Regions from separate parts of the Homo sapiens genome. Here regions 2, 3, 4, 5, 6 and 7 are each linked to region 1. Evidence: promoter capture Hi-C in 16 types of primary human blood cells and fetal thymus (Javierre and others, 2016). All regions are on one chromosome and are shown on one strand. The core of a region is centred on a gene start or on the middle of the fragment in contact, and the rest is flanking DNA. Distances in the headings are between cores, read along the strand shown.

Region 1 (4,147 bases), core at 660-3,159:
GACATGAGAACTGCTTGAACTTGGGGGATGGAGGTTGCAGTGAGCCAAGATCGCGCCACTGAAATCCAGCCTGGGCAATGCAGTGAGACTCCGTCTCAGAACAAAAAAAAAGAAAATATATGTTCACATAAAAATGTACATACTAATTTTCATGGCAGCATTATTAGCCAAAAGTGAAAGCAACCCAAGTGTCCACCAACCGACAAATGAAAAACAAAATGTCTATCCCTCCAGTAGACTGCTATTCAGCAATAAAAAAGAATGACGTTCTGACACATGCTACAACATGGTCAAACCTTAAAAACGCTATCCTATGACAGAAGCCAGACACAAAAGGCCACATATTGTATGATTTATTTATATGAAGTGTACAGGATCAGCAAATCCATAGAGACATGAAGCAGATGAGTAGTTGCGAGGTGGAGGGAAGAGAGAATAAGGGGGAAGGAGGGAGCTGAGAGTGAGTGGCTGCTTAAGGGGTATGGGATTTCTTTTTCGGGGTGATGAAAATACTCTGGAGTCAGTGGCAATGGTTGCAAATCCTTGTAAATAAACTTAAAAAACACTGAAATATATGTTTTAAAATGATGGGTTTTAAAACATGAAACAAAACGTGGACATCATATCTCAATAAATTTTTTTTTTTTTTTTTTTAGACAGAGTCTTGCTCTGTCGCCCAGGTTGGAGTGCAGTGGCGCAATCTCGGCTCACTGTAAGCTCCGCCTCCCAGGTTCATGCCATTCTCCTGCCTCAGCCTCCCAAATATCTGGGAATACAGGCGCCCGCCACCTCACCCGGCTAATTTCTTGTATTTTTAGTAGAGATGGGGTTTCACCGTGTTAACCAGGATGCTCTCAATCTCCTGACCTCATGATCTGCCCGCCTCAGCCTCCCAAAGTGCTGGGATTACAGGCATGAGCCACCGCGCCCAGCCCAAAGATTATTTTTAAAATGGACAAAAGGCTTGTGTAGTCACTTCACAAATGAGGATACTTATATGGTCAATAAACATATAAAAAGGTGCTCATTATCATTAGTCATCATAGAAATACAAAGTAAAACTACGATGTGATACAACTACTTAGCCATCAGAAAACCTAAAAAGCCTGACAACACAAAGTGTGGGCAAGGATGCAGAGACTGGAACTGCCTTTCTCTGCTAGTGGGAGTATAAGTCGGTATAACCACTGTAGAAAACTGGTTGGTAGGAGCTACTAAAGTGAAACGGATATAGTCTATGACCAGGCAATTCTACTCGTGCATACATACACCACAGAAAATAATGCTTATTTCCTTAAAAAAAAAAAAAAAAAAAAAAAAAAAAAAAAAAAAAAAACATAAATGTCATAGCAGCTATTCATAGAAGGCCTAAACTTGAAAGACCCAAATGTTCACCAGTCACAGACGAAACTGTGAAATGAGCATAGAATAAAAAATAACTGATACACACAATGTGGATGTATCTCAGACTTACAACTAAAAACCTCTTTCTAACCCCATAAGCTGTACTCAGAGGCTTATGTTGCCATGTGTCACCTGGATCAAATTTTAAAACTGACTTAGTGATTTTAAGTATGCTTAATCTCTTTCCTGATGCCAATATTAATGTAAAAAATATTGAAATATTTCAATTTGAAATATTTGAAATTTACTATTTCAAAATAAATTCATGTGTATTGTAGAAAAATTAGATTCTACGGATTAACAACAACAAAACCCCTCACCCATGCTCCCACCGCACAGAAAGACCTGCTAACACTGTGCCCTGTACTCATCTGGATGCTTTTCTGAGCATTTCAAAAGCTGGAGTATTTTAACCGAATGTCAGCATGCACATACCTTCCAGAGTCAGCACTGGGAGCCACAGAGCAGATGGTGAGAGGTGAGGACCAGCGCGCAGCTTGAGGTGTGAAGCACGTCTCCCACTGGCTAATCTCCTTATCTTCTCTGGAGTGCTGCTCAGCTTGCTTCCTTCCTCCACAGCACTTCCATGCTCCCTGCTGGGCACGCACTGCCATCTGCATCCCTCACTCACCCCTGGAACCTGCCCAGCCCCTCTGTGGAGGGAGGCCTTGGCAGGTTTGACCTCTGTGTCTGCGCCCACTCACTGAGCAGCCCTCACATTCACCTGGGCCACATGTTCTTAACATTTCTCTATTTTGGTCTCCTTGCCACTGTCAGCTTTGTAGAACTGATCAAGACTGTGGGATGAGTGCCTCCCTTTCCCCATTTTTCCACACATAAACTCCTCAGCCTCCACAGGTCTCCCTGTCCCCAAACATGACCTACTTTTTCCCATGGTTGACTCCCCACCACACACACACAGTCCTCCAACGGGACTTTGCTCCTTCAGTTCTCTTCCCACCTCATCAGCAGTAGGATGAAGGCAGGGATGAGGAGGATGTGGCACCTGCCCTCTGGGGCTCACAGGCCTACAGAGGAAATGGGCAGCATTTCTGGCTTCCAGTCCAGGGTAAGTGCTATAAAACAGGCATAAATCCTGAGTTATGGAAGCCGAAAACCAACAGTGATGGCTCCTCATGGTGTGGGGAAGGTCTAGAAAGGGCATGGAGGCCGCAGCTCAGGATCAGAAACCCTGCCAATTCTCTGCCAAGTAGCCCCTCATTCTGACAGTGTGGAAGCGCCCTGGAGACACAGCCTAAGCCAGCACTTATGACATATTTACTTCTTCTCTAAACATTTTAATATACTTTAAATGAGATATTATGAATCTATAAAGATTCTAGCATCTTTCAGTATGACCGTAAAGAAAGGCATACAACTTGTACACTTAAGAGACATGTCATCTCCTCGCAATGAAAGAATCTGACCCAATTCATTTGGTAATTAATTTTATTGATTAAAGTATTACAAAGTTCTACTTTTCATTTTTTCATGTACAATGTATTGAAATGAACTAAACTCAATCACTTATAATATAAAAAGACATTATTATGTATTAGCAGGGTGATGCTTCATAATCATGTATTATTCCTACCTCTAAGACACCAGTCTGTATTATAGAATCACAGCTGTCACCTGTGACTGTCAGAAACAGAAGGTGCAATTGGGATTCTTAGGTTGGTGACAGAATAGCACTGGATCCACAGGCCAGAGACTAGGAGTGCTTATCAAATGAGGTTTTAGGCTCTGAAAGGAAGGAATGAGAAGGTGTGCCGGGACAAGGAATAGCCAGTTCCCATAAAACTTGGGAAACGTAGATTTCTCAAAAGTAGGGTCCGACACAATTTTTTAGTTACTTTTTGAGAAAATTTAAAAATAAATACATTGAAATGCTGATTAGAGAGCGAAAGTAATTTAGGTTGCTTTTTCAATCTGAGGTTGTTTTAAAAAAGTTATTGTATGAAAGGTATTAAAAAATAAAAAAATTATGGTGAATATGTTGGCAGGTAAGATTTGAAGTTCTTTCAGAGAAGATAAACGGCATGGCAATTAAGCTTTAATAATATATTAGTTTTAAATAGATATACATATAAAAATACTTCAAATGATTCATCTCGGATTGAACACTCTTAAAAATTAAAAGGGTCAGCCGGGCGCGGTGGCACACGCCTGTAATCCTAGCACTTTGGGAGGCTGAGGTGGGCGGATCACGAGGTCAAGAGATCGAGGCCATCCTGGCCAACATGGTGAAACCTGTCTCCACTAAAAATACAAAAATTAGCTGGGCGTGGTGGCAGGTGCCTGTAGTCCCAGCTACTCAGGAGGCTGAGGCAGGAGAATTGTTTGAACCCAGGAAGCGGAGGTTGCAATAAGCCGAGATCATGCCACTACACTCCAGCCTGGCGATAGAGCGAGACTCCGGAGTCTCAAAAAAAAAAAAAAAAAAAAATTTAGAAGGGTCTAAAATAAACATTTTTAAATGCAGGGCATTTTCAGTAAAAAGAGTTCATGAAAACCTTCTGTCCCCAGCAGGCATGGGGCAAGAGAACTTTTGGCAGGTCACGGTGGCCAAACGGGATTTTTTCCTGGAAGACTCAGCACTAGAATCCACTTGCAGCTTTGTAAATGTACTCAGGTTTCACATGAACCTTAGAAAACTTGGAAGCCACTGTGTCCCCAGATCTCACTCCCTCCTGGTAGAGCCCTGCCACAAGACAGAACAGATCAAGAGGCACGTGGAAGA
Region 2 (4,147 bases), core at 1,070-3,569, 510 kb after region 1:
TGATCCGCTTTCCTTGGCCTCCAAAGTGCTGGGATTACAGGCATGAGCCACCGCACCCGGCCTGCTGAGTATATTTTAATATATGATTGCTCAGAATTAAAGCAAATAATTACCATTTCTACTTTGAGACTCAAGAATTCCTGAAAATTTGCTGGGTGTGGTGGCTCACAACTATAATCCCGCCACTTTGGGAGGCTGAGGTGAGAGAATTGCTTGAGCCCAGGAGTCCGAATATAGCAAGACCCCGCCTCTATTTTTTTAATTAAAAAAAAATACTCATGAAAATTTGACCTCACGCCCTATTATCAGATAAGCTAGAAAATACAAAATACACACAATGCCAAAATACAATGTTTGTGATATACATAGAATCCCACTGTTTTACAACAGCACTGCTGCCAGAGTACTAAAAAAATCTATTATACCTTTTAAAATTTAAATTTAAAATATGTTTTGTCTTACTGATTTCCAGGGACAATCACCATACTTTCCCCCATTATTCTTTTTTTTTTTTTCTGTTTTTTTTTGTTTTGTTTTTTTGAGACAGGGTCTTATCCTGTTGCCCAGGCTGGAGTGTAGTGGTGTGATCCCGGCTCACTGCAACCTCCACCTCCTGGGTTCAGGCAATTATCATGCCTCGGCCTCCCAAGAAGCTGGGATTACAGGCGTGCATCACCATGCCTGGCTAATTTTTGTGTTTTTAGTAGAGTTGGGGTTTCACAGCATTGGCCAGGCTGGTCTTGAACTCCTGGTCTCAAGCAATCTGCCTACCTTGGTCTCCTAAAGTGCTGGGATTACAGATGTGAGCCACCATGCCTGGCCCTGACTACTTTTTAAACATTAGTTTTGCCACCAAATTGCTCAGGCTAAAGTACTCTCTGAACAAGTCTGCGCTTTATCTGTCTCCCTTGTGCCAATCAGCTTCCAAATCTACATTTCTAGCATAAACCATCCTTTCCTGCCCTGCAGGCTACCCAGCTGTCTACATCTACAGGATGACTCACAGATCCTTCCAAATCAATATTAAATCAACAACATTCTCTTTCTTCCTTGAGAGCTTCTACTTCTCTCCCGCCTTTTCTTCCTTTGTGATTAAGATCCTCCCTATTCATTCTTACAATATCTATTGAGCATCTACTTTGCACCAGTCACTGTTGTCGACGTTTGGAACAGTGAACAAAAAGAATCTTGTCCTCGTGCACCTATGAGTGTGCAGGGACTCATATTTGCCATGTGGACTGACAGGGACAATAAATGAATAAATGGTATGAGATATAAGAGGTAGGAAAAAATTGAGCAGAATAAGTGGGATTTGGGGAGAGGCATTTCCAGATAAGGTTGTCAGGGTAGGCGTCATTGGAAGGAGGTTAAGGGAGAAAAGACTTGAAGAGGTTTGAGAACAAAGACATGAAGGAGTTAAGGGAGTTAGCATGTGGCTACCTAGAGGAAGACTGTTCCAGGCCAAGGGACAGTCAGCACAAAGGCTCAAGGCAGGAGCATTCCCTTATATGCTTGTGAAGAGCAGTTGCAGCTGCAACTCAATGAATGTGGGTCGGGAGACAGTAGAAAATGAGGCTGGAGAGGGGATAGAGGCCTAGATTACATGGGGTTTTAGGGACTATCATAAGGACTGGTCATTGCAGGGCTTTGAGCAGAGACATTACGTGGTCTTATTTATGTTTAAAACGTTCACTCTGACTGCTCTGTTGAAATTAGGTGATAGTGGGGCAAGGGGAGACACATGGAAACTAACTAATGGTAGGCTATTCCTGCAACCCAGGTAAGAGCTAGTGTGGCTTGGTCTGCCATCCTCTGTCTTACCGAAGCTAGAAACCTCAGTGAACTCCTCTAGCCATTCCTCTCTCCCACTTCCCCACCCATTCCCCTACACACCCTGCAATATACACACCTGGATTCTATTTCCAAATACCAGCCACTGCCCTCTACCCAACCACAACAGCCTCCATTCAGGCTTATCTGGATCATTGAAACAGCCTCCTAATTGGCCTCCCTGCCTTTCACTTACCCCTTCTTCCAGTCTATCCTATCAGCTGGGGTACCCTTCTCATTACAGAGGGTCCTAGCTTGGGATATACGCATAGAATTCACTGGGTCTGTGACCTAGTGAATTCTGGAAAAGTTTGCTTTGATTTTCATTTACATCTAACTGAAATTTAGCATTTCCTTTATGCTTATAAACATAAGCAACAAGCTGCAGTACCAGTGACTGTCACCAACAGAAATTAGATATTTTCATAGCATAATTAAAGTTGACACATGTCTCAAGGTATCATTTATATGCATTACCACTTTGAAATTATATTAGACCTACCACTAGATTTTTTTAAATGTGCTAATAATGGAGCAAATATCACAATTAAGAACTATTTTGTATTTCAACATTATTGGATTCCTTTTAATTCCTATGTATTTTAATTTATATAAAGATTAAATATATAATATTTAACCTAATATAAATTATATTCTGGGGGATTCATGGGCTTTATCAGATAGCCAAAGGGGTTCAAGGCCAGAAAAGATTAAAAACCCATGTTCTAATCATATTTAATCTATTCAGACCTGATCTTATTACTTCCATAATTTGAAAATCCTGAGGTGTCTGGCTAGCATACAGGATAAAAATCTGAAGTTCTAACAATGCTGACAAGGTTCTCCCATCTTCACTTGGCTAACTTTTTCTGCTTTATTACAAGTCATTCCTTCTTTCTCCTATCCTATGTTCTGACCACCACAGACCCCTGCTGCTCCTCGGCTTATGGCCCTTTCATTCCTCTGGGCATTTGTTTCTTATGTTCCCTTTTCCTGCAAAGCCTGCACAACCATGGAAACTCTTGCTTCATCTTCAAAGACTTCCCTTCTTCCAATACTGCCTTCTCAGGCCAAATGAGTTTCTCCCTCATCCTTGCTTCTGTAGCATGTTATACACTGCTTTTCACATCTTACAGCAGTCTTGGTTGCCCGCTTGCCTCTCTTTCTCCACAGTAACACCTCATGGAAGAACCTATCTTACATATCTTGGAATCCTTAGAAGATGTGAACAGATGCTTCATAAATGGCTAGTTGAAATGAACTAAATACTTTTAAAAATAATTTATCTGAAACATGACTCACTTCTTTAATGCGTAAGAATATGACAAAATTTACCTTAGAATTTTTTCCCCAGTTTTCTTATAACCTTTAGGTTAAGAACATAATGTTACATTTGCTCATAAATAAATGTTTGCAAACCAGACTAGAAGATACTTGCAATACATATATCTAACAAACAATTTGGAACTACCATTAAAAAAAAAAGATTTCTTCAAGTTATTAAGAAAAAGACAACCAGCCCAATAAAAAATTGGGCAAAGACTTGAACAGAAACTTGAAAAGATAGATATCCAAGTGGTCAAAATTATGAAATAAAGCTCACGGGGGCTTTATATGACTCGTCAGGGGAACACAAATTAAAAATCACAAGAAACCACTACTACCACCCCAGAAAGGCTCCAATTTAAAAGACTGACAATCCTAAGTATTTTCAGGGATGTAGAATTTTTTTTTTTTTTTTTTTTTTTTTTTTTTTTTTTGTGAGACAGAGTCTGGCTGTGTCACCCAGGCTGAAGTGCTGTGGCAAGGTCTCGGCTTACTGCAACCTCCACCTCCCGGATTCAAGTGATTCTCCTGCCTCAGCCTCCCGAGTAGCTGGGACTACAGGCGCGTGCCACCATGCCTGGCTAATTTTCTTTTCTATTTTTAGTAGAGATGGGGCTTCACTGTGTGAGCCAGGATGGTCTTGATCTCCTGACCTCATGATCTGCCCGCCTCGGCCTCCCAAAGTGCTGGGATTACAGGCATGAGCCACCACGCCTGTTCCAAGGATGTAGAATTCTTATTTGTGGCTGGGGGAACATGCACAATGATACAATTGTTTTGAAAAACCACTGAGTTTCTGCTAGAGATAACCTGCATCTGCTTTATGATCCAGCAATTCCATTCTTTATACTTAAAAGAAATTAGTGCTATGTTCTCTCATTTGTACATTATATTCATAGCAGCTTTGTTCATAATATCCAAAAGATGAAACAATCCAAATGCTCAAATAAATTGTAATAGATTTACATAATGGAATATTGCACATTAAAAA
Region 3 (4,147 bases), core at 551-3,050, 450 kb after region 1:
GTATCAAAGCTCAGATGAGTCTTTGCTGTCCCAAGAGCAAAAAAAAAAAAAAAAGTCCACCCGAATAGGCTTAAATTAAAAGTTTACCTTTTATATTAAGTATTTTACTATCTGATAAGTATGAATATACTTACAAGTCTTTGGGCCTGAAAATCAGACTAGATTAGTTACTAGAAGGGATAAGTGCTAATTCTATAATATCATCTGTTCCTGAACTTGTATTACAAGCAAAAAAAACTGTTAAGTGGTTAAGGCAAGCACAGTTCTCATAGTAACTGACATTCTCAAAGTCTACTGACAATAACCTTGTTTCTCATATAACCTCTGGTGCTGAGTTTCTTGAACAAAATTCCCCTGGACTAGACTACTGAATATTTATATCAGGTTTCTATATTTTACAGATATGCCAGAATAAGAGTATCTAGTGAGTAGTAAAATATATTGTATAATGACGGCTTTTAGCATTCTATAAATACAACAGTCTGGGAAATAGCAATTTAGTGCCAGTCAGGTTTCTGTTTATAAAAGGTCTTATCTATAGAAAATAGCTGAAAAAACAGTTGAATTATTTCATTTACATTGAAGACTGCTGGTAACTGCTTTCTGGTTTGTGCTTGTGGATCAATCATGCAGTTTTAACACTGTTATAATGCTATAATAATAGCTAATACTTCTTAGGCTCTCACTATATGCCAGATTCTGTGGTGAATATTTATTTTTTTTAGACAAAGTCTTGGTCTTGTGGCCCAGGCTGGAGTGCAATGGCACAATATCGGCTCACTGCAACCTCCAACTTCTGGGTTCAAGTGGTTCTCCTGCCTCAGCCTCCCAAGTAGCTAGGATTACAGGCACCCGCCACCATACCCAGCTAATTTTTTTTTTTTTGGTATTTTTAGTAGAGACGGGGTTTCACCATGTTGGCCAGGCTGGTCTTGAACTCCTGATCTCGTGATCCGCCGGCCTCAGCTTCCCAAAGTGCTAGGATTACAGGTGTGAGCCACCGTGCCTGGCCGATGAATATTTTTTCCTATTTAATCTTCATAAAATACTAAGAATACAGTAAAAGTTAAGATACTTGCGCAAAGCCCACATATTAACCATCACACTGTACTTCCAAGAATAGGCCCATTGTACATGTAATAGTCATTCATGTACAATTACTACTGTTAACTAATCAAATCTAAAGTGTCAATTTTAAGACATATTACTCTTTTATCTTTTACTAACAAAAAAGCTTCCAATTAAACTATAGTGTGGGCCAGGTGAGGTGGCTCACACCTGTAATCCCAGCACTTTGGTAGGCTGAGGTTAGGAGTTCAAGAACAGCCTGGCCAACATGGTGAAAACCCGACTCTACTAAAAATACAAAAATGAGCTGGGTGTGGTGGTGGGCACCTGTAATGTAACCCCAGCTACTTGGGAGGCTGAAGCATGACAATCGGTTGAACTTGGGAGGCAGAGGTTGCAGTGAGTTGAGATCTTGCCACTGAACTCCAGCCTGAGCAACAGAGCAAGACTCAAGTCTCAAAAAAAAAAAAAAAAAAAAAAAAAAAGGCAGCAATCTTATATCAGAGATTTAAAATGTAGACTACGTACATTTAAAATAAACTAAATATGATTATCCTAAAATTATCAGTTTTATCAGATTGATTTAAATGCAATATATACTACTAGATCTGAAAACAAAGTGAGCAAACTATTTGAATGATTTTCAGCTTCTTTTAAATTTTTATTTATAACTGACATAATTATACATACTTATGGGGTAACAGTGTGATGTTTCAATGTATTTATACATTATATAATGATCAAATAGTATATCTATTATGGAAAACACTATGAAGGTTCATCAAAAAATTAAAAAAAGGACTACCATATGATCCAGCATCCCATTATTGAATATATATTCAAAGGAAATGAAATCAGTATGTCGAAGAGATACCTGTACTCCCACGTTTATTGCAGTTCTTTTAAGCGTCTTTTGAAAAGACATGCAGTCTTGGAGAATGAAACCATTTACCACAAACCTCTTATCTGAAGAAAAAATAAAACAGCTACAGGTACAGGCGTTTATAAGAACTGCATTCGTAACTTATGCTTACATATTTCTAGTCAATCGGTTTGTACGTTAATCAAAGTAAAAATACTTCCATCAAAATGTATGTTTAATAAACACTGGTTAAAGTAAACCTGTATTGTAAAAAATGGTATGAATTAACACTGGATATTTTACGAGAAAGGCTGCCAAAAGGCACTGAGCTGAAAGTTGACTTCACTCTCTGTGTGAATAGTAACCAAGAGCCCCCCTACAGTGCTATGGGGTCTTTCTCTTCCTTTCCACTGCTCCCATCTTGATCAGCCCAAGAGAAGCTTATCATCTGAAGGAGCAATGATGGGGAGGGTAGACCATGTTCCACGAAAGCAGAAAACTGTCAATTCTAAAAAAGGGGGTGATGGACCAGAAGTGTATGAGAATGATAGCTTGCCAAAAAGAAAATGAGATGATGTAATCACATCAAGAAAGAATATCCACCAGTTCCTTCAGTCATTCAGCCAGTTGAAGGAGGCAGGCAATGCCACCCTTGTAACTGTATGAGCGGATTCATTCATTACTCTCTGTGCAAATATAGGAAGATCAATTATTTGAGATGGAAAATTATAATTGTAAATGGCAGTTGTAAATATATCACCTTGCTATAAGGTTGGTAAGAACAGAAACAACACATTTTCTGATTTTTTCCCCACAAAGTAGTTTCATATTGCTCTGTTTCCTCTTTGAAATAGTAACTCTGCCAAAGGCAGTATCCTTTGATAAAGATAACAATCAAGTAGTGGGATTTAATGCTAAAGTAACATTTTAATTAATGTTTTATTGGATGACTCTGTGGTCATTATCATTAACTTCAGGCAGCCAAGTATAGAATATTTCTAAATATTCTAAACTAAACTGGTTTTAGTTCAGCTGATTCTCACACAATGAGAACTGTAGTCAACTAAGCACAACTATTATGATCAAGCAATTATTTATTTTGTGTTATTATGAAATCCTCTCTTTAGAAGATAAATTTGCCAATCTGTTTAAATTCTGTATTTAAGTTGGATCTTTCCCCTAGATTTTGATAGCTAAATAGCAGATCTTAAAGATCAGCATTTATAGCTATAATATATCCTGAAATTCACAGATCTCTCAATAAAACAAAAATCAAATGAAAATAATGCTAAGCAACTTGCAAAAAGTATGAAAATTGCTGCACTAGAAGCCAGAAGACCTGGATTGTAATTTCATTTTTGTAATAAACTAGCCCTGAGACCTTGGGAAAAGTCAAACTCTGTGAGCCTCAGCAAACTCACATGTAAAATGAAGGTATGTGAAACTAGATGGCCCCTTCCAATTCCAATTATCTAATTCTACTTAAGCCAAATTTTGAAATTACAAAATACTAGAATCCCATTTATTGTTAGTATCAGTTTGGCCACAAGCACAGACTAACTCTTACATCTAGCCTGCCACAAACTAAAAATAATCATGAGGGTGTTGGCCAGAGTACAAAACTTGTTCCAACTGTAGCTGTTTTGCTTTTTGTGACTTGAAATCTTAGAATCACTTACGCCTCCTCTCTCTCACTTATTTCCAATAAGCCATCAATGTTAAAGTCTGACTGCTATTTCAGCAATCTCCCATATCTGACTCCTCACCATTCCCAGACAGGCCAGAACGCTGGATGCATAAAGGGGAGTAATGAGAGATGGGTGAAAAAAAGATCCTATTTATTTTTTTGAGACAAAGTCTCACTCTGTCACCCAGGCTACAGTTTAGTTTGATCATAGCTCACCATAACCACAAACTACTGGGCTCAAATCATCTTCCCGCCTTGGCCTCCCAAACTGCTGGGATTACTGGTGTGAGCCTCCACACACAGCCCCTATCTACCTTTTTTAACCTCACCTTCCATCACTCCCTTTTATGCTCCCATCACACCTGCCAAACTCATTCTCTCCCAGGGCCACCACAAGATGCCCCACCCTCTGTATTCCACTAAATCACTAGAATTCCTCCTGTTTCCAGAACTCCCCTCATAGCAGGCCTTATAAAGACGTACCATGAAAAAATTTTGTGGTCAGAAAGTGATTCATACTTCATGCATTA
Region 4 (4,147 bases), core at 733-3,232, 420 kb after region 1:
CTCAAATATATAAATAAATAAAGTAAAATCCAACAGCAGAGATAGTCTTAAATCTAGCTTATGAGACAGCAGGTATGAAATTGGGTGCCCACTTCCCCACTGATCAGCAGAGTTACCTGCAATGCCTTCAAGAGCCTCATTTGAGAGCCAAGGTTATTAGCTATGGTCCAGGATTTGGATTTTTTCCCTTTATGATTATGATCAATTTTACATTGAAATATGACAATTATAACTGTAATAAAATAAAGGTGATGATGAACATAAACTAGTTTATATAAAAGATACAAAGCATTCAACACAAGATTCTCACCTGGGCCAGCTTGTCACTACATTCATGTTTGGTAGTTACTGGGTAACAAGACTGTGCTGGAGGGCAATGAAAGCTTTCTGTTCGACCTTTTACAGAACATTCAGGTGTTCGTCCTTCTGTTATCAGCAAGGCCAAAGAGACCAAGAACTCCTCTGCATCATATTCAAAATATTCATCCAGAGTATCTGATATAAAAAAGGGGCAAAGGGTCCTCAATTTAATGTACTCTTAGTAAGAACTCATCTGGTCTGCCTAAAATAACTAATGTCACATTACACATTATTCATTTAACATAGAGTGAAAATAATAAAAATGAGAATCAAAATATACTAAACTTTTGATTCACAAACTACAGAAGTGAGGAGATGATGGATAATTCCAAATTCTAGTTGAACTGGTATATTAATTATAATTGTAATATAATTAATAATAATAATTACTATTATTTTTGAAACAGAGTTTCATTCTTTTTGTCCAGGCTGGAGTGCAATGGCGCAATCTCGGCTCACTGCAACCTCCGCCTCCTGGGTTCAAGCGATTCTCCTGCCTCAGCCTCCCAAGTAGCTGGGATTACAGGCATGTGCCACCACGCATGGCTATTTTTTGTATTTTTAGTAGAGAAGGGGTTTTGCCATGTTGGTCAGGCTGGTCTCGAACTCCTGACCTCCGGTGATCCACCCGCCTCGGCCTCCCAATGTGCTGGGATTACAGGCATGAGCCACTGAGCCTGGCCTATAATTACATTTTTGGGTCAGGTGTGGTAGCTTACTTTTCTAATTAAAAAGTGACACATTTTCTGAGAAATTTATAAAATTCAGAGAGTAAGACAAAAACAACTCATTATTCAGAGATATCTATTGTTAACTTTATAGCCTATAATAATTATATTTTCGGGCCGGGCGTGGTGGCTCATGCCTGTAATCCCAGCACTTTGGGAGGCCGAGGTGGGCAGATCACCTGAGGTCGGGAATTTGAGACAAGCCTTACCAACATGGTGAAACCCAGTCTCTACTAAAAATACAAAAATCAGCTGGGTGTGGTGGCGCATGTCTGTAATCTCAGCTACTCAGGAGGCTGAGGCAGGAGAATCTCTTGAACACGGGAGATGGAGGTTGCGGTGAGCCAAGATCACCCCATTGCACTCCAGCCTGGGCGACAGAGCAAGACTTTGTCTCAAAAAAAAAAAATTAATATTTTTGGATGTCAGGTACAATAGTTTTTGCACACAAATCATCACTAATAGCTAAAAGGTTAAAATGTCTTATGTCATATTTTTAGCTAAGATGTTCTATTGCTATTATTTACATATTAGAAAAAGATACAGATCCAACTGCATGTTTCTCTTTCTCTCCCCCTCCCTTTACTAGTTCCTTAGTCTCACAGCACTAATTCCGTGACATGAAAATTCATAGTCATGGGGTCCTCTGTGCTTTTACTATATAGTAATAACAATTTCTAAGGAAGAAATGCTATTATCCAGCAGCGGCACAAAGCCTGATTTGCAATATGTGGAGTGTGGTATTCTGGTTATTACAGTTTCAAACAATCTAATCTGTGGATTTTTTTCACGTAGTTATGGTAATTTAAATATTTCTCATGAGTGCTCTTAGTTTTTTAACAGCTAATTTTAAAAACTGTTAACTTGCTATACAAGTTGAACATTCATACACAAAAGTGCACACACTATTCAATTTGTTGTACAATTTGTTGTACAAAAAGTTGCTCTTATCTCGGCCAATCAAGCAACAAATATTTCAAGTGCCTATTATACCTCAGGTAATAGGAGGACACAGAGTCGTATGCACATAGTTCCTAGTTTTGAAACCTTTACAATTCAAAGAATTTTAAAAACAAACAGAACCATGCAGCATGGAATGGGAAGAGAGAAGGTGCAATTTGAGCAGAGATCTCATGTAGAGAAAAGTATGCAAAAAGAAAGACTGGAGCCAGCTTATGAATAGCTTTGAAGGGTATGATGAAGAATGCTCTTTTCCAGCTTCAGGAAGGCTTATCAGGAAAGGAAGAAGCCTTGGGAGTAAACTTTATTAAACTGGTATTTTAAGACCATTCAGAAAAGTTTCTCTAAAGTGACCATTTGGAACATATAAAATGACAGCTGACATTTGGTAACTTATCACTGTCAGTTCTAAGTACCTTCTACACGTCAACTGATTTAATCCTCAGAACAGCTCTAGAAGGTGAGGACTATTACTTCTATTTTTCAGATAAATGAAGCATGGAGAGGTTAAGTAATTTGCCCAAGATCATCCAGCTAGGAAGTAGCAAAGTTGAATTTTGAAGCTGGACAGTTTAGCTCCAGAACCTGGACTCTAGTACTATTCCCAGTCAATTCATCCAGTTTATCATACATCCCCAGGTTAAAAAATACATGGATCATACACTTTAAACATTCTCAGAGTAGTAGACACAACAACCAAATACATATTATAACGTACTGTGATAACCACTCGTACAGACGTTAGCAGTCTATGTTATAAGAGCACAGACAGGTGGCCAGTAGTTGAGTAGGGGTATGTGGTGGAAGACAGTGGTGATGAAAGGTTCTAAGGGGTATGTGGTGAAGACAGTGGTGAGGAAGGGTTCTACGGTAGTGACGTGTTGCTTGAGACAAGTCACTGAATGTTTTCTTCTGTTAAATGAAAGTAACATCTACCCAGTTGTCTGAAAGAACTTTAGGAAGATCACATAGAGCAAGATTTTAACAGTGGCCATTGCCAAGAGTGAACACCGGCAGCCTTCTTTAAGTTGTGTGACCCCTGGTTGGAAGTGGTGGTTCATGCCTGTAATCCTAGCATTTTGGGAGGCTGAGGCAAGAGAATCCATTGAGCCCAGGAGTTCAAGACCAGCCTGGGCAATATAGGGAGACCCTGTCTTTATTTACATGTATATATAAAAGTGTGACCCTGTTCCCCAACCCCAACAAAGCCAATTGATTCAAAGTGGGGACCTGACCCATCCTGGGTCAGTCTATTTCCCAGGACACTGGAGTTAGGATTCAGAGATGTTGGTTTGTCCCCGTCTGCTATGACTTAAACTGAGGCAATGTACACCCAGGAGCTATGCAATGACCATAGACTGCCATGGGCATGGAACAGCAAAGAGAATGAAATAAGCTATATAGTGAATGAGAGAAACAAGAGACTTTGTAGACATAGAAAGCCAGAAAAAGTAGTTGCCTGATTCCTGACAATGTTCCAGTCCCTCATAAACCTACTGAGACAGAACTCTGTATCCCTAGCAATCAATTCCTTTAAGCTTGTTGAGTGAATTGTTTGTAATCAAAAGCACCTTGACTAGTAACTAAAGTATATTGTTATGAAATTAGAGAAGACAATCATCAAAAATAAAAAAAATTGCTAGTCTATAAATGAGAATTATTGAGTGATGGGCTGAATTGAAATTCATATGTTGAAGCCTTAACTGGCACTGTGACTCTATTTGGAAATAAGGCTTTTAGGAGGTAATTATAGTTAAATGAGGTCATAAGGGTGGTAACGCATGTAGCTTTAAAAGAAGAGAAAGTGATCTCCTCTCTCCCTGCTTTCCCCCACCTCCCCCAGGCCACATGTGTCTCCTTCTTGCTTTTTTTCTCTTCAAGGAAAGGCCACATGAGCACACAGGGAGAAGGCAGCTGTCTGTGAGCCAGGAAGAGAGCTCTCACCAGGACCTGAACATGCTGGCCCCTTGATCTTGGACTTCCAGCCTTCAGAACTGTGAGAAAATAAATTTCCATTGTTTAAGCCACCCAAATCTATGGTATTTTATGGCAGCCTGAGCACACTAAAACATCGGGGAAAATAAAACTTTCCAAAAATG
Region 5 (4,147 bases), core at 1,232-3,731, 370 kb before region 1:
AGAACTGGTTGGGTGCGATGGCTCAAACATGTAATCCTAGCACTTTGGGAGGTCATGGTGGGTGGGTCACTTGAAGTCAGTAGTTTGAGATCAGCCTGACCAACATGGTGAAACCCTGTGTCTACTAAAAATACAAAAAAATTAGCTGGGTGTGGTGGTGCACGCCTGAAGTCCCAGCTACTCGGGAGGCTGAGGCAGGAGAATCACTTGAACCCGGGAGGCAGAGGTTGCAGTGAGCCAAGGTCGCACCACTGCACTCCAGCCTGGGCAACAGAGCGAGATTTCATCTAAAAACAAACAAACAAACAAACAAATTAAAAACTTAAGGAGGATAAAAATGAAGACAGTTTAGTTAATGGGTACAAAAATACACTTGGAATAAGTTTTAGTGGTTCAACAGCACAGTAGGGTGACTGTAGTTGTCAATAATGTATTGCATATTTCAAAATAGCTGGAAGATTTGAAATGTTCTCAACACAAAGAAATAATCAATGTTTGAGATGATGACCAATTACCCTGGTTTGATTATTACACATTGTATCATGTAGCAAAATATCACATGTACTCCCATGCATATGTACAATTATAATGTATCAATAAGAATTTAGTAAAAGACAAAAAGAAACAATTATTTAAGACTTTTAAGCAAATAGGAAAATAAGCTGACAATCACTACAAATATCAAGAAGGAATCCATTGGCTAGATAACCTAGAAAAAACAATACATTGTTTTCAAGCCAATAAATGTTTATAAAAAATTCAAATAATACAAGGAGGCCAGGCGCGGTGGCTCACACCTGTAATCCCAGCACTTTGGGAGGCCGAGGTTGGAGGATCACTTGAGGTCAGGAGTTTAAGATCAGCCTGGCCAACATGGCAAAACCCTGTCTCTACTAAAAATACAAAAATAAGTCAGGTGTGGTGGTGCACGTCTGTAGTCCCAGCTACTCAGGAGGCTGAGGCAGGAGAATCGCTTGAACCCAGGAGGTGGAGGTTGCAGTGAGCCAAGATCGTGCCATTGCACTCCAGCCTGGGCGACAGAGTGAGACTCTGTCTCAAAAACAAATAATAATAATAAATAAAAATAAATAAAGACAAGGAAAAGTAAGCAGAAGTTAAATCATATCACAACTCTGGTCTTGGTAGAAGGGTTTGGGGCATCTAGCATTTATCATTTAAAGACCTGAATTTAATTCTTATTTAATTCCATTTATGACAGGGATCATATTCATTCACTCACCTGAGCTGAAATTTGGCTTTCTGCAGTGACTGTAGGAGAGTCTAACAATGGACAGCACTGGGAATTTATTGCTTCTATAGTAAATGTTAAACTGAACAGTTTTAGCACTAACATTTTTAATATTATTAAAATAGTATTAAAATTTGGGGATAATATTTTAGGTTTATGTGCATATCCCAGAAGTTTATTCTTTAATAGTGATGTTTGTCATCAACTTTGGCTTCAGCTGAAGAGTGACTTATTTTTTGGCCCTTTTGGCATTTGGCTGAAATGTGTATTCAGTGCACTTCTAATGGAGGCATAATGGGGTATGAAAATATGGGAAAGGCAAAATTAATTCCAGCTGATGGCATTAGTGAAGGTTGAGTGGGGAACAGACATTTGAGATGGACAATGAAACATGAGGAGGCTTCTAACAGGCAGAGATGGGTTATAGAAAAAGGGGCACTTGAGGCCAAAAAGTGTGCTTGAATCTTTCCTGTAAAACTGTATGCACACAGGCGTGGTGGCTCATGCCTGTAATCCCAGCACTTTGGGAGGTCAAGGAAGGCAGATCACCTGAGGTCACGAGTTTGAGACCAGCCTGGCCAACATGGTGAAACCCCGTCTCTACTAAAAATACAAAAATTAGCCAGGCATGGTTGTGCACACCTGGAATCCCAGCTACTTGGGAGGCTGAGGCAGGAGAATGGTGTGAACCCGGGAGGTGGAGCTTGCAGTGAGCCAAGATCACGCCACTGCACTCCAGCCTGGGTGACAGAGAGAGACTCCATCTCAAAAAAAAAAAAAAAAAAAAAACCGGTATGTACCCAGCCATGATGTTTGTCTTCTGTGATTGCTACCTCCCACTGCTTCCATAGGATTCCTACCTCCAAGCTTCCATAATGAAATCCTTCCCTTTTCATTTCAAATTTTTGTCTTTAGTTTTTCTCAGCTCTCCTATAAATACACGTTTTTACATACACACAAAATATGCTTACATATACCAAAGTAACTATTTCCTAAAGGAACTCTTTGATAACAAGAAAAGTGCTGCTGTTATTAATTAGCATACGATGATTCAGTGTGACATGCTTTCTGAGTTATTCTGGCTGGAAGTTTAGAGATAACACTAATTAGAGCTTGTAATATTAACACATAAAGTAGAGTTGAAGTGTCATTTTATCAATCACTTTCACTCTAACCAAACCCTGAACACTAATGGGAACCATACTCTGTCCCTTGTTCAAATATTTTACCTGAAGGCCTCAGATTTGTTCTCTGTAGTGTGTTAGCCTGTTGAACTTCAACAGTTTTCCATTACTTGAAGTGGGTTAAATGCAGACGGTTGGGGGTGCCATACCACTTCTAGTTCAGATCATCATGTTTCTTTGATTAGGCACTATAGTAGTCAGCTTTTGCTAAGTAAGTCTATAGTAACAAACGAACCTAAACCTCAGTTTCCCCTTCGCTCACATTATATATTATGTCAGCTAGTGGCTGAGGCTCTGATCCATGTAATTTCTTATTCTAGAACCCAGGCAGAAGGACCAGCCTCTATTCAGAACTTGTCTCTCTTGGTGGAGGGAAAGAGCAGGCACACTAGTAGAGAAAGGCAGTGACTCTTAAAGCTTCCACCCAGAACTGTCGGATTGTCCCTTCCACTTATATTTTATTGACCAAAGCAAGATTCATGTTTCTAAACTTTGTGATTACAATATGACATTTAACCGAAGAGAGGAGGAAAATCCCATCATGGGATCATAGCCAAGCCTGGAATGCCTGCGGGGCAGCACTGGAAGTCACATAGTAGTGGGCAAGCCTGTCTATTCCTCTAAAGGAGAGCAAATATGTGGGAACAATATTTCAATCTACCACAGGTATTTAGTGGACTTACCTTTTCACTTATTTATGTAAATCTAATTTCCATGTTTTTCCTGTTTGTTTTCCTCCAAGAATTATGTTTCCAACTCTAAGGGAATAGTGGCAACCCTAAATTATAGCCTTTTTAAAAGAGAGCTCTGTCTCTATTTCAGGACTTTCACAGGATCTTATTCTCCTGTGTAGTCAACCCTCTTGCAGCTGGTGTTTACATCCAAATCAGGTCACTGGCTGGCATTTACAGGTGAACCTTCTGGGTCTGTGTCCCAAGAGGAGAGTAGGAGAGAGAGGGAAGAACCCAACATTCATTTATTTACAAATATTTATTGAATACTTTCTGTGTGCAGGCAGTATTGTAGATGCTAGGGATGGAGGAGTAAACAAAGCAAAGCTTGTTGAGCTTCCACTAAGGAAACAAGCAATATGAAGCTATGTGGTAAAAGTGCTATGACGACAAGTAAAGAAAGGAGAGAATGGCAGGGTAAGGTGGTAAGAGGAAGACTTTCAGAGGTAACATGTGAGCAGAACCTTCATTAAAATGAGGGCATGAGCTAGAAGCATCTGGGAGGAAAATCATTCTCCTGCACAGCATAAAGACTCTGAGATGGGGAGAAACTTGGCAGGATTAAGAAACCTCAGGGAGGCCAGTATGACTAGAGCAGTATCAGAGAGAATATGTGGTAGGAAACAAAACAATCATATACAGATTTGTAGAGGTGTTAATTATGGATTTTATTCTAAATGTGATGGAAGCCATGAACGGTTTGGAGCAAGATGGTGATATGATCTGATTTGTTTTTAAAAGATCATTCTGGGCTGGGAGTGGTAGCTCACGCGTGTAATCCCAGCACTTTGGGAGACCAAAGTGGGCAGATCACCTGAGGTCAGGAGTTCAAGACCAGCCTAGTCAACATGGCGAAACCCCGTCTCTACTAAAAAAATACAAAAATTAGCTGGGTGTGGTGGGGTGGGGGGCCTGTAATCTCAGCTACTAGGGAGGCTGAGGCAGGCAGAATTGCTTGAACCCCGGAGGCAGAGGTTGCAGTG
Region 6 (4,147 bases), core at 1,648-4,147, 340 kb after region 1:
GTACCTGGCACACAGGATGCCTGATAAGTATTTCTGCTTGCCATTAAGCTAAGGCCCATTCACAAAAAGAATTTGCCAACAAATAACCAAGTAACCAGACTATTAATTAGGCATAAGTATATTTAGAAGAAGGCAGTGTAAGCCCCAACTTCAGTCTTGATCTCTAAGCCAGTCTGTCTTTATAATGACAAAGAGGTTAAAAAAAATTTTTTTTCAACACACGGTCTTGCTGTTTTGCCCAGGATGGAGTGCAGTGGCACAGTCATGGCTCACTGCAGCCTCAACCTCCCAGGCTCAAGCAATCTTCCTGCCTCAGCTGATCATCCTGCCTCAGCTCTCGAGTAGCTGGGACCGCAGGCGTGACTAACTCGCCCAGCTAATTTTTATTTATTTATTTATTTATTTTTTGAGACAGAGTTTCGCTCTTGTTGCCCAGGCTCGCGATCTTGGTTCACTGCAACCTCCGCCTTCCAGGTTCAAGTGATTCTCCTGCCTCAGCCTCCTGAGTAGCTGGGATTACAGGCATGCGCCACCACGCCCAGCTAATTTTCTATTTTTAGTAGAGACGGGGTTTTGCCATGTTGGTCAAGATGGTCTCGAACTCCTGACCTCAGGTGATTCACCCACCTCGGCAACGTGTTGGGATTACAGGCGTGAGCTACCGTGCCCAGCCTAACTTTTTAATTTTTTTGTAGAGACCAGGTCTCATTATGTTCCTCAGGCTGTTAAAAGGTAAATTTTAAAATAGATTGTGATAAAGCTGTGACAGAAGCCCAAAACTTTACCATTTACAAATCACAACATCTTTTCAATTTTTTCTCCCAAATTATCCTGGGGGAAAAAAGCATTCGAAATCCAACAACAATTTATTATCCACTCAGTCTCTAGTTAAGCAGCCTACTATTAGGTGACTCAAAGATGACTGCTCACCATATAGAACGGAGGGTGTCCAATCTTTTGGCTTCCCTGGGCCACACTGGAAGAAGAATTTTCTTTGGCCACACATAAAATACACTAATGATAAATGATGAGCTAAAAAAAAAATTGCAAAAAAAACACAACAACCCATGTTTTAAGAAAGTTTATGAATTTGTGTTGGGGCACATTCAAAGCCGTCCTGGGCCCACATGCGGCCCATGGGCTGCGGGTTGGACAAACTTGATGTAGAAGTGGAGGGGATGGGCTACACAAAGTAACCAAGGAATGTTTACAGACTGATTATCTCTTCATGTGAAAATGATTTTGATATTTCTTAATATCGACCTCATAAGTTCCTTATGAGGATTATGAGTTCATATTTTTAAAACGCTTAAAACAGTACCTGGCACATAGCAAGCACCATATTAAGTGTTTAAGTTACTTTTAATCAGTTTCCAATTGCATTCGTTCATATGTTAGAGATCTACAATGCCTAAAGAAATTACCAGGTTGAGAGAGAAGTTCCAACTGTACAGTCGTTAAATCTAAAACTAGAAAGAAAGAGGTCTCAGACAATGTTTCATGCAAGCTCATTTCATGGTTGAAGAAATTAATCATATATCTCATATTTGCAGAGAAATTCATAGGTTACAAAAAGCTTTCACAACGATTATTAAGTTTGATTCTCACAACAGCTTGTAAGGGATGCAAGGCAAGTATAATTAACTGCATTTACTCATTAGGAAATCGAACCAGAGATGTTAAGTGACTTGTCCAAGGTCACAGTTAGTAAGTCCCGGCTTGAATCCAGGTCTCTTGATGCCCAGTCTTCTTTCCTCTACAAAACACACTGCAACTTGGGCCCTGGACTTCAGTGACATTTGGAAACAATGATTCCAGTGATTACAGGACCCTAAATGAAAGTTCTGTTGCAAAAGCTAATGTGAAAAGGCAACTCTATTAACTGCATGTAGAAGTAATCAATATCTGGCAAAATATCTACCTACACATGAGTGTACAGTATAAAATGCCATGATTACATATATTCACAAAGGTCATCACAAATCTGCGCAGCACTCAAGTGACAGTTCTCCATAATATGTCATTCAGAGATCGCCAGACCCTGAGTATATTGATGTCAGTCTAAGAAAAGACTGCCACTTCCCTTAAACCAAACCCAGAAGGGAAAGGCTTGCCCCAGAGGATGGTAAAGACATGGAGCCTAACAAGGCTCTGCGGGATTACACGCAGGTTGCAAACTCCCAGCGATAAATGAGTACCGACCCTCCCAGCCGGTGAATCAGCTCGCGTTCATCCGGCAGCATCTTTCCCCGGGGCTCGCCACCCCCAGCGCAGCTAAACTGGGGAGCTAAAGGTGATACGGCCACCGTTTGCAGGATTCAAAATAACCTCACAGAAAGGCTAGCTGGCGGTAGAAGCGGCACTGCATACCAACACAAGACGTTATTTTAAGCGCGTGTCCCCACGAGAGAACCCATCCGATCTACTGGAGCAAGCATCTCCCACCCGCCGGGAATTTTCCAAAGCCAAGCAGGAGGGGAGGCACGCCCGCCCTGCTAAATCCACATGGGCCCCCTTTCCACTCCGAAGCCCGCTCTGCCCCCAGCTCGAGCAGCGCGGCAGGGGCCTGGGAGACCCCCGAGGCGGGCCACCTTCCGCCGCCTTCACCATCTCGCCCGAAAGAGGAAGGTGCCGCAGCGGGCGACCGGCTGGTAGGGCCGAGGGTTCTGAGGCGCTGAAGGGGATGGCGCTGGTGGGGCTCGCCTGGGCCCGGCGCTCCCGCCCCCTCCCCAGCCTGACAGCTGGCGGCGAGGGCCGCACAGCCCCAGTCCTCGACGCCGGCCGCGGGGTGCCTTACCTTTGTGTAGAGCTCCGACGCAGCCATGGCGGGCCCCGCGCGCCTACGCCCCCCGCCTGTGCGGAGGCCGCACCTCGCCTGGGCGGCCGCCCGAGCGGACTAGGAAGCGCCCGCAGCCGCCGGCAGGGAGCAGGGCAGGGCAGGGCCGGGCGGGGAGGGCCGCGCGGGGCGGGGCGGGGCGGGGCGCCTCAGGCGCTGGCCGCCCGCAGGGGCCTCGCCATCACTCCCGGGCTCGCCGCGAGCAGCCGCGAGCGCTCCACCTGCCCGGGGTCCTAGGGGTCGCCGCCGCCGCCGCAGCCACTTCGGCGGCCCGCGATGCTGCCTCCGCTGCCGCCGCCGCCACCGCCGCCGCCCTGTGCATTATGGGAGCGGGAGGAGGCTGCGCTCCAGCGCTGCCACCGCGGCTGCTCTGGGCTCTCTCGGGCTCACGCTGCCTCCCATCGGCTACGAGCACAGAGCATCATCATCATCAGCCTGCCAGCCGGCCCCGCCGCCGCCTCGCGCCCTGCCGAGGCCCGGAAACCCGCCCGGGACGTGAGCCCCGAGGGCGCGGCACACCCCGGGCGCCCCCACCCCGAAGCGAGCCCGGGGCCCTCTGCTGCGGAGCCTAGCTCCCGCGGTAGCGCAGCCATGGCACGGGCTGTTACTGTGTCCGAATAAACGATGGGAGCCTCCAGGCTGCTCCTCCCGTCCTTCCAAGCATTCCTAGGGAGAGGATTTAGGGGAAGCCCTCTTGAAAGACTGTAGAATAACCCAGGACTGTAGAAGAGCCTTGTCAGCAGCAGTGACCCGGGAGATGGGCAATGCAGGACCGGGAATTTCAGGTTAAGGTTGATCACCAAGGTCATTCCGAGCACCTCGATGTCTGCAGCAAAGTCGTCTCCCGATACCAGAGGGCAAGGGCCGCTTCTAAGCTACAGAAACTTAAGTGACTTTGAAACGAGATAGCCCGGGGACAGCCCAGGTGCCTCTTTCCTAGACCTGTGCGTTTGCGGAGATGCAACTACCCTTCTGTCCCAGCCTTCTTCCCGTCCTGTTCGCTGCTGGTGATTGTCGGCTCCATGGTGGCACCTGAAGTTTATCCGGTTGCCACCTGAAAATGACGGAGTACTTACATGGAAAATCTGTATTACAGTTTAACTCAACATCAAAAGGGCAAAGCCGCCCTCACTCTCCTCACGGTGATCCTTGAACATCCAGCACAAGAATGTGGTCTTTCTACTCCCAACCCTGCGCTGTCTTCATCCTCTATCTTCTCCCCACCCTCATTGTCGTTTCTGGTTGAATAATCTTCATTCTTTATTGTTGTCGTTGTTGTTGTTGCTGTTTTTGTTTGTTTAATCCCTGCCT
Region 7 (4,147 bases), core at 574-3,073, 330 kb before region 1:
TGACCCCGAGGTAGGTGCTAGGTGATGAAGAGAAATGAAATAACTTTTCGAATTCTTTGAAACTCAGTAGCTGCCTTTGAGCTTTTCCATGACTTTTCTCTGGCACCTTCCACCCTTTCCTCCACTTTATCCAAATCAAGTTGCTTTTGGCTCTCTCTCCAGTTCCCCACTTCTGCCTCCATATGTTTAATGACATGACTGTCCTAAACTACTTCAGTATCCTTGTTTTCAAACATCTCCTGAAATTTTTTCCTCCTCTAAGAAATTTTTCTCCTCTGTGCAGGAAGGGATATTTTTAGTACAATGCAGCAGATGGTTACCTTTTTGATACACGCCAACCTCTGTCTCTTCAGAGCTTCTATGCCAGGTGGCTCCAGTGTAGAATGCCTCTAAAAGATTCTTCATGACCCTAAATCTAATTGTTCCCTTTCTGAAAGAGGCTGACCGAATTGATTACATTTCCAGACATTGGTAGAATAGATCTAAGTAACTTCTTGGCAATACAGCAGTCCACTGTGGAGCAGACATGAATATATGTATGTAAGCTTTAACTTGCAAGGTGGATGTTGTTTGTCTTATAAATTACACAAGGCTAAGATAGACACCCATGACCCTTGAATTGTTATTCCCTGATATGTTGGAGGACGGGCAGTGAAGGAAGAGCCTGAAGGTCGTGAAGGTAATGGTTGTTTGCTAGGCTTCTTTTCTTTACCACATTTCTTTATGCCAAGACGTTGATTTTAAGTATCCTCTAAGGACTGAGATGGAGTTCATTTTATAACGTTGTTGTTACTGGATGATGTATCTATACCATAGATCAAATCCCTTAACCATAATTACTATTATAAGGAAAAGTTCCCAGTACATCTGATTGGAGGGGGATTACTCAGGATAATGATGCTGTTTTTATCACATCACAACAGTATCTTCTGTAGGCAGTTCAATCTATTAGACCTATTTGAATCAAATGTTTTAGAACTGGAAAAAGTGGCTGGGTGCTCACGCCTATAATCGCAGCACTTTGGGAGGCCGAGGCGGGTGGATCACTTGAGGCCAGGAGTTCGAGACCAGCCTGGCCAACATAGTGAACCCCGTCTCTACTAAATATACAAAAATTAGCTGGGCATGGTGGTGCACGCATGTAGCCCCAGGCTACTTGGGAAGTGGAGGTATGAGAATTGCTTGAGCCAGAGAGGTGGAAGTTGCAGTGAGCCGAAATTGCACCACTGTACTCCAGCTTGGGTGACAGAGCAAGACTTATCTCAAAAAAAAAAAAAAAAAAACTGGAAAAAGCATAAGACTTTATCTAGTCCCTAGGCCAGGTTCCTCAATCTTGACAGTATTTACTTTTGAGGTTGGATAATTTGTTGTAGGGGGGCCGTTCTGTGCCTTGGAGGGATGTTTAACAACATCCCTGACCAGTAGCACACTCCTCCTGTTTTAAAATGTTCCTAGGATGTTGTTTTAATCAGGTTTGGTAATGGATGACACACACTGAAACTACTGCCTTGAAAGAAGAGTTTATTACTTACAGTTCCAAGAGTAGGAGGCACAGCATGCCACACAGAGGCACAGGGGGAAGCACCTAGATTGGTCAGGAGGCAAAAGGATCAAGGAACAAGCATGGTCCAGAGCCTTTATTGTGGTTCAATGGGAATGAATGGGTGAGTCAGGATAGGCAAGTTTGAACAAGTTTAGGACTAGATGGTTTGAATAATTTGAACAGGCTCAGGGCTATGTAACTAGTCTCTAGTTGTCCAGTATCTGGTTCTGGGTGATTTAGGGGGAGGGGAAATACTGGCTTGGTAAGTGAGCGTTAGATAAAAAAGAGGTGGTTAGGAGAATTGGTTGGTTTGCGTATGAAAGGTGTGCTCCGGGGGAGGTTGGTGGGGATAGTGCGCTCTCTAGCCAGCCCTGGAAGGAGTGGTCTCTCCAGGATTAGCAAGGCCCCAAGATGTCAAAGCATCATAAAACTCAGAAAATAAAAAACATGACTTTTTTTTAGAGCCCAATTCTCACTCTGTTCCTCAGGCAAGAGTGAAGTGGTGCAGTGATAGCTCACTGCAGCCTCGAACTTCTGGGCTCAAGCGATCCTCCCACCTCAGCCTCCTATGTAGCTAGGACTACAGGCAAGCACCACTATACCCAGCTAATTACTTTTTAAAATTTTTTGTAGAGACAGGGTCTCGTTATGTTACCCAGACTGAAAAACATAATACCCTCCCCCTGAGTTGACAACCAAAAATGTCTCCAGGCATTGTCAAATGTCCTCTAGGGGACAAAAACACTACTGGTTCAGAAACATTGATCTAGTTCATGCCCTCTGTTTTACAGATGGAAAACAGAAATTAGGTAACTTGCCTCAGTTATTACAATTAGGGAAAGAGCTGGGACTAGATCCCTCACTGCCTGATTGATACCTGGCAGTCTAGCAGTCTTTTTCTGTTAAACCACATTGAGTCTCCTCCCAACTCATGCACTATGGTATCAGTCTGAAATCTGTTGGCTAATTTTTTATTTGTAAATCCATGGCCTGCTTCTTGTGTGGGGAGGCTTGAGTAACCTCTGAATGTATTTTGCAAACTCCCCAACCCCAGTCATAATTCCTCTAACCTCAATACTGTTAGTTGAGGCTAGGAGAACAGTGATGTTTATTGACAGCATCTGTTTGTTGGGTGACATGTTTTTGGAAAGCGTTCTGGTAAAGAACCAGGTAAGAAAAGAGGTCAAGGGTAGTAGCAGCTACTTCAGCCAAAGAAACACCACTGTAACTTACAAAGTCTCAGGAAGTAGGTCGAAGGTGTGTGTGGTACCTTATTATATTTTGGAGGACTGTTTTACTGTCCTTCTGCTGTATTCAGTGTACGTGTTTGCTAACTCACTGAGTTTTTGCCAAAAAAAAAATATATATATATGTCTCCAGAAGACAGCCAGCCTAGGAAGAGCTTTTTTTCCCCCCCAAGGCTAGGAATATATTTTACAGCAAAATTGCACTGCAAGAGAGAAACGTGTCATTTTTAGTGACAATCATATTAAAGAAAATTTTTATATGAAAAGTAATTATGATCTATTAGCTTACTTGATTAGAACATATTTCTAATGAAGCTTGGTTCATGGGTTTATAGTCTCTAAAACCAGCTAGCTTCATTTAGATTGTGGTTAGACTGTTTTTGGCCGGGTATAGTGGCTCACACCTGTAATCCTAGCATTTTGGGAGGCCAAGGAGGGAGATTTGCTTAAGAGCAGGAGTTCCAGACCATCCTGGGCAACATAGCAAGACCTTGCCTCGACAAAAAATTTTAAAAATTAGCCGGGGGCATGGTGGTGCACACCTGTAGTTCCAGTTACTCCAGAGGCCTAGGCAGGAAGATTGCTTAAGCCCAGGAGTTCAAGGTTGCAGCAAGCTGTGATCGCACCACTGTACTCCAGCCTGAGCAGTAGAGCAAGACCCTGTCTCCCCCCTACCCAAAAAAAAGAAAGAAAAAAAAGGCTTTCTAAGGAGCCAGACCAAAAAGAAAGAAAGAAAAAAAAGGCTTTCTAGGGAGCCAGGATTTCAGCTATCATATTTAAGACTGTGTGTGTCACATGGGCTTGAGCAGGCAGGTAGAGTAGTGCAAATTCCATTACCACCACCATGAAATAGCAATATATACATCTATGCATTAATGATGGAGAAGGAAAGTAACTTTTTATTAATTTGCCTTAATGAGAATCTTTCTTTAAAAGCATTCTAACACCTTTATTCAGTAAATATTTGGGGGCAACTTGTAGACCCCAGGTACTATGCTAGGCTTAGGAATACAAGAATGAGCAAAACAAATGTGGTCTTTGCCCTCATGACGCAGGCTGGTAGGAATAGGAGCAGTTTGACATTAACCAAATAATCATACCATATTAAAAGAATGGTAAGTGCTACACACTGTAAGAGCTTGTGATGAGAGGTTAAGAAAAGCTTCCCTGGGGGAATGGAGCTACAATCTGAAAAATGAGTTGCAAAAAGGGATAGGCAGAGCATTCCAGGGAAGGGAGACCACACACATAGAGGCCTGGTGGTAGAAGGAAGTATATGGCAAGTACAAGAGAGAAAAAAAAGTCCAGTGTGACTGGAATGGAGAGGGTGTGTGAGATGAGGCTAGGGTGACAGACT

Evidence for each region. The method cuts DNA at HindIII sites, captures the fragments that hold promoters and counts their contacts. A CHiCAGO score of 5 or more calls a contact.
Region 2: a fragment that was not itself captured here is called in contact with the fragment with the promoter of GNB5 in region 1 in 2 of 17 cell types (total B cells and naive CD4 T cells); the score reaches 7.6 in total B cells.
Region 3: a fragment that was not itself captured here is called in contact with the fragment with the promoter of GNB5 in region 1 in 4 of 17 cell types (naive B cells, naive CD8 T cells, total CD4 T cells and 1 more); the score reaches 9.9 in naive B cells.
Region 4: a fragment that was not itself captured here is called in contact with the fragment with the promoter of GNB5 in region 1 in 2 of 17 cell types (total B cells and naive B cells); the score reaches 5.8 in total B cells.
Region 5: a fragment that was not itself captured here is called in contact with the fragment with the promoter of GNB5 in region 1 in 1 of 17 cell types (naive CD8 T cells); the score reaches 7.0 in naive CD8 T cells.
Region 6: the fragment with the promoter of MYO5A here is called in contact with the fragment with the promoter of GNB5 in region 1 in 2 of 17 cell types (non-activated CD4 T cells and naive CD8 T cells); the score reaches 5.3 in non-activated CD4 T cells.
Region 7: a fragment that was not itself captured here is called in contact with the fragment with the promoter of GNB5 in region 1 in 5 of 17 cell types (naive CD8 T cells, total B cells, total CD8 T cells and 2 more); the score reaches 6.9 in naive CD8 T cells.

Annotation. Positions count from the first base shown.
Region 1 is chr15:52,189,483-52,193,629 of GRCh38, forward strand. GNB5 (G protein subunit beta 5) reads right to left here and starts at 1,910. Exons shown (of 13, transcript NM_016194.4): 1 at 1,840-1,910. It overlaps MYO5C (myosin VC), which reads right to left. Exons shown (of 41, transcript NM_018728.4): 41 at 2,840-4,147. The region is part of intron 2 of CERNA1 (competing endogenous lncRNA 1 for miR-4707-5p and miR-4767); the gene reads left to right. RefSeq lists an enhancer at 2,008-2,507. The HindIII fragment of the contact is 7,593 bases long and covers 1-3,456 here.
Region 2 is chr15:52,694,403-52,698,549 of GRCh38, forward strand. It overlaps a transcript of ATOSA not described here. Among named protein-coding and RNA genes, the nearest start is that of ATOSA, 17 kb to the left of the region's middle. The HindIII fragment of the contact is 7,421 bases long and covers 1-4,147 here.
Region 3 is chr15:52,639,046-52,643,192 of GRCh38, forward strand. All of the region lies in intron 2 of ATOSA (atos homolog A), which reads right to left. Among named protein-coding and RNA genes, the nearest start is that of ATOSA, 38 kb to the right of the region's middle. The HindIII fragment of the contact is 1,136 bases long and covers 1,233-2,368 here.
Region 4 is chr15:52,613,363-52,617,509 of GRCh38, forward strand. ATOSA (atos homolog A) reads right to left here. Exons shown (of 13, transcript NM_001385016.1): 3 at 311-495. Among named protein-coding and RNA genes, the nearest start is that of ARPP19, 46 kb to the left of the region's middle. The HindIII fragment of the contact is 3,203 bases long and covers 382-3,584 here.
Region 5 is chr15:51,822,897-51,827,043 of GRCh38, forward strand. No RefSeq gene overlaps it. Among named protein-coding and RNA genes, the nearest start is that of TMOD3, 4.7 kb to the right of the region's middle. The HindIII fragment of the contact is 734 bases long and covers 2,115-2,848 here.
Region 6 is chr15:52,525,983-52,530,129 of GRCh38, forward strand. It overlaps MYO5A (myosin VA), which reads right to left and starts at 2,898. Exons shown (of 42, transcript NM_001382347.1): 1 at 2,798-2,898. The coding sequence starts at 2,824. RefSeq lists a silencer at 2,548-3,427. The HindIII fragment of the contact is 12,943 bases long and covers 1,575-4,147 here.
Region 7 is chr15:51,863,001-51,867,147 of GRCh38, forward strand. It overlaps TMOD3 (tropomodulin 3), which reads left to right. Exons shown (of 10, transcript NM_014547.5): 2 at 1-10. Among named protein-coding and RNA genes, the nearest start is that of TMOD3, 35 kb to the left of the region's middle. The HindIII fragment of the contact is 2,560 bases long and covers 544-3,103 here.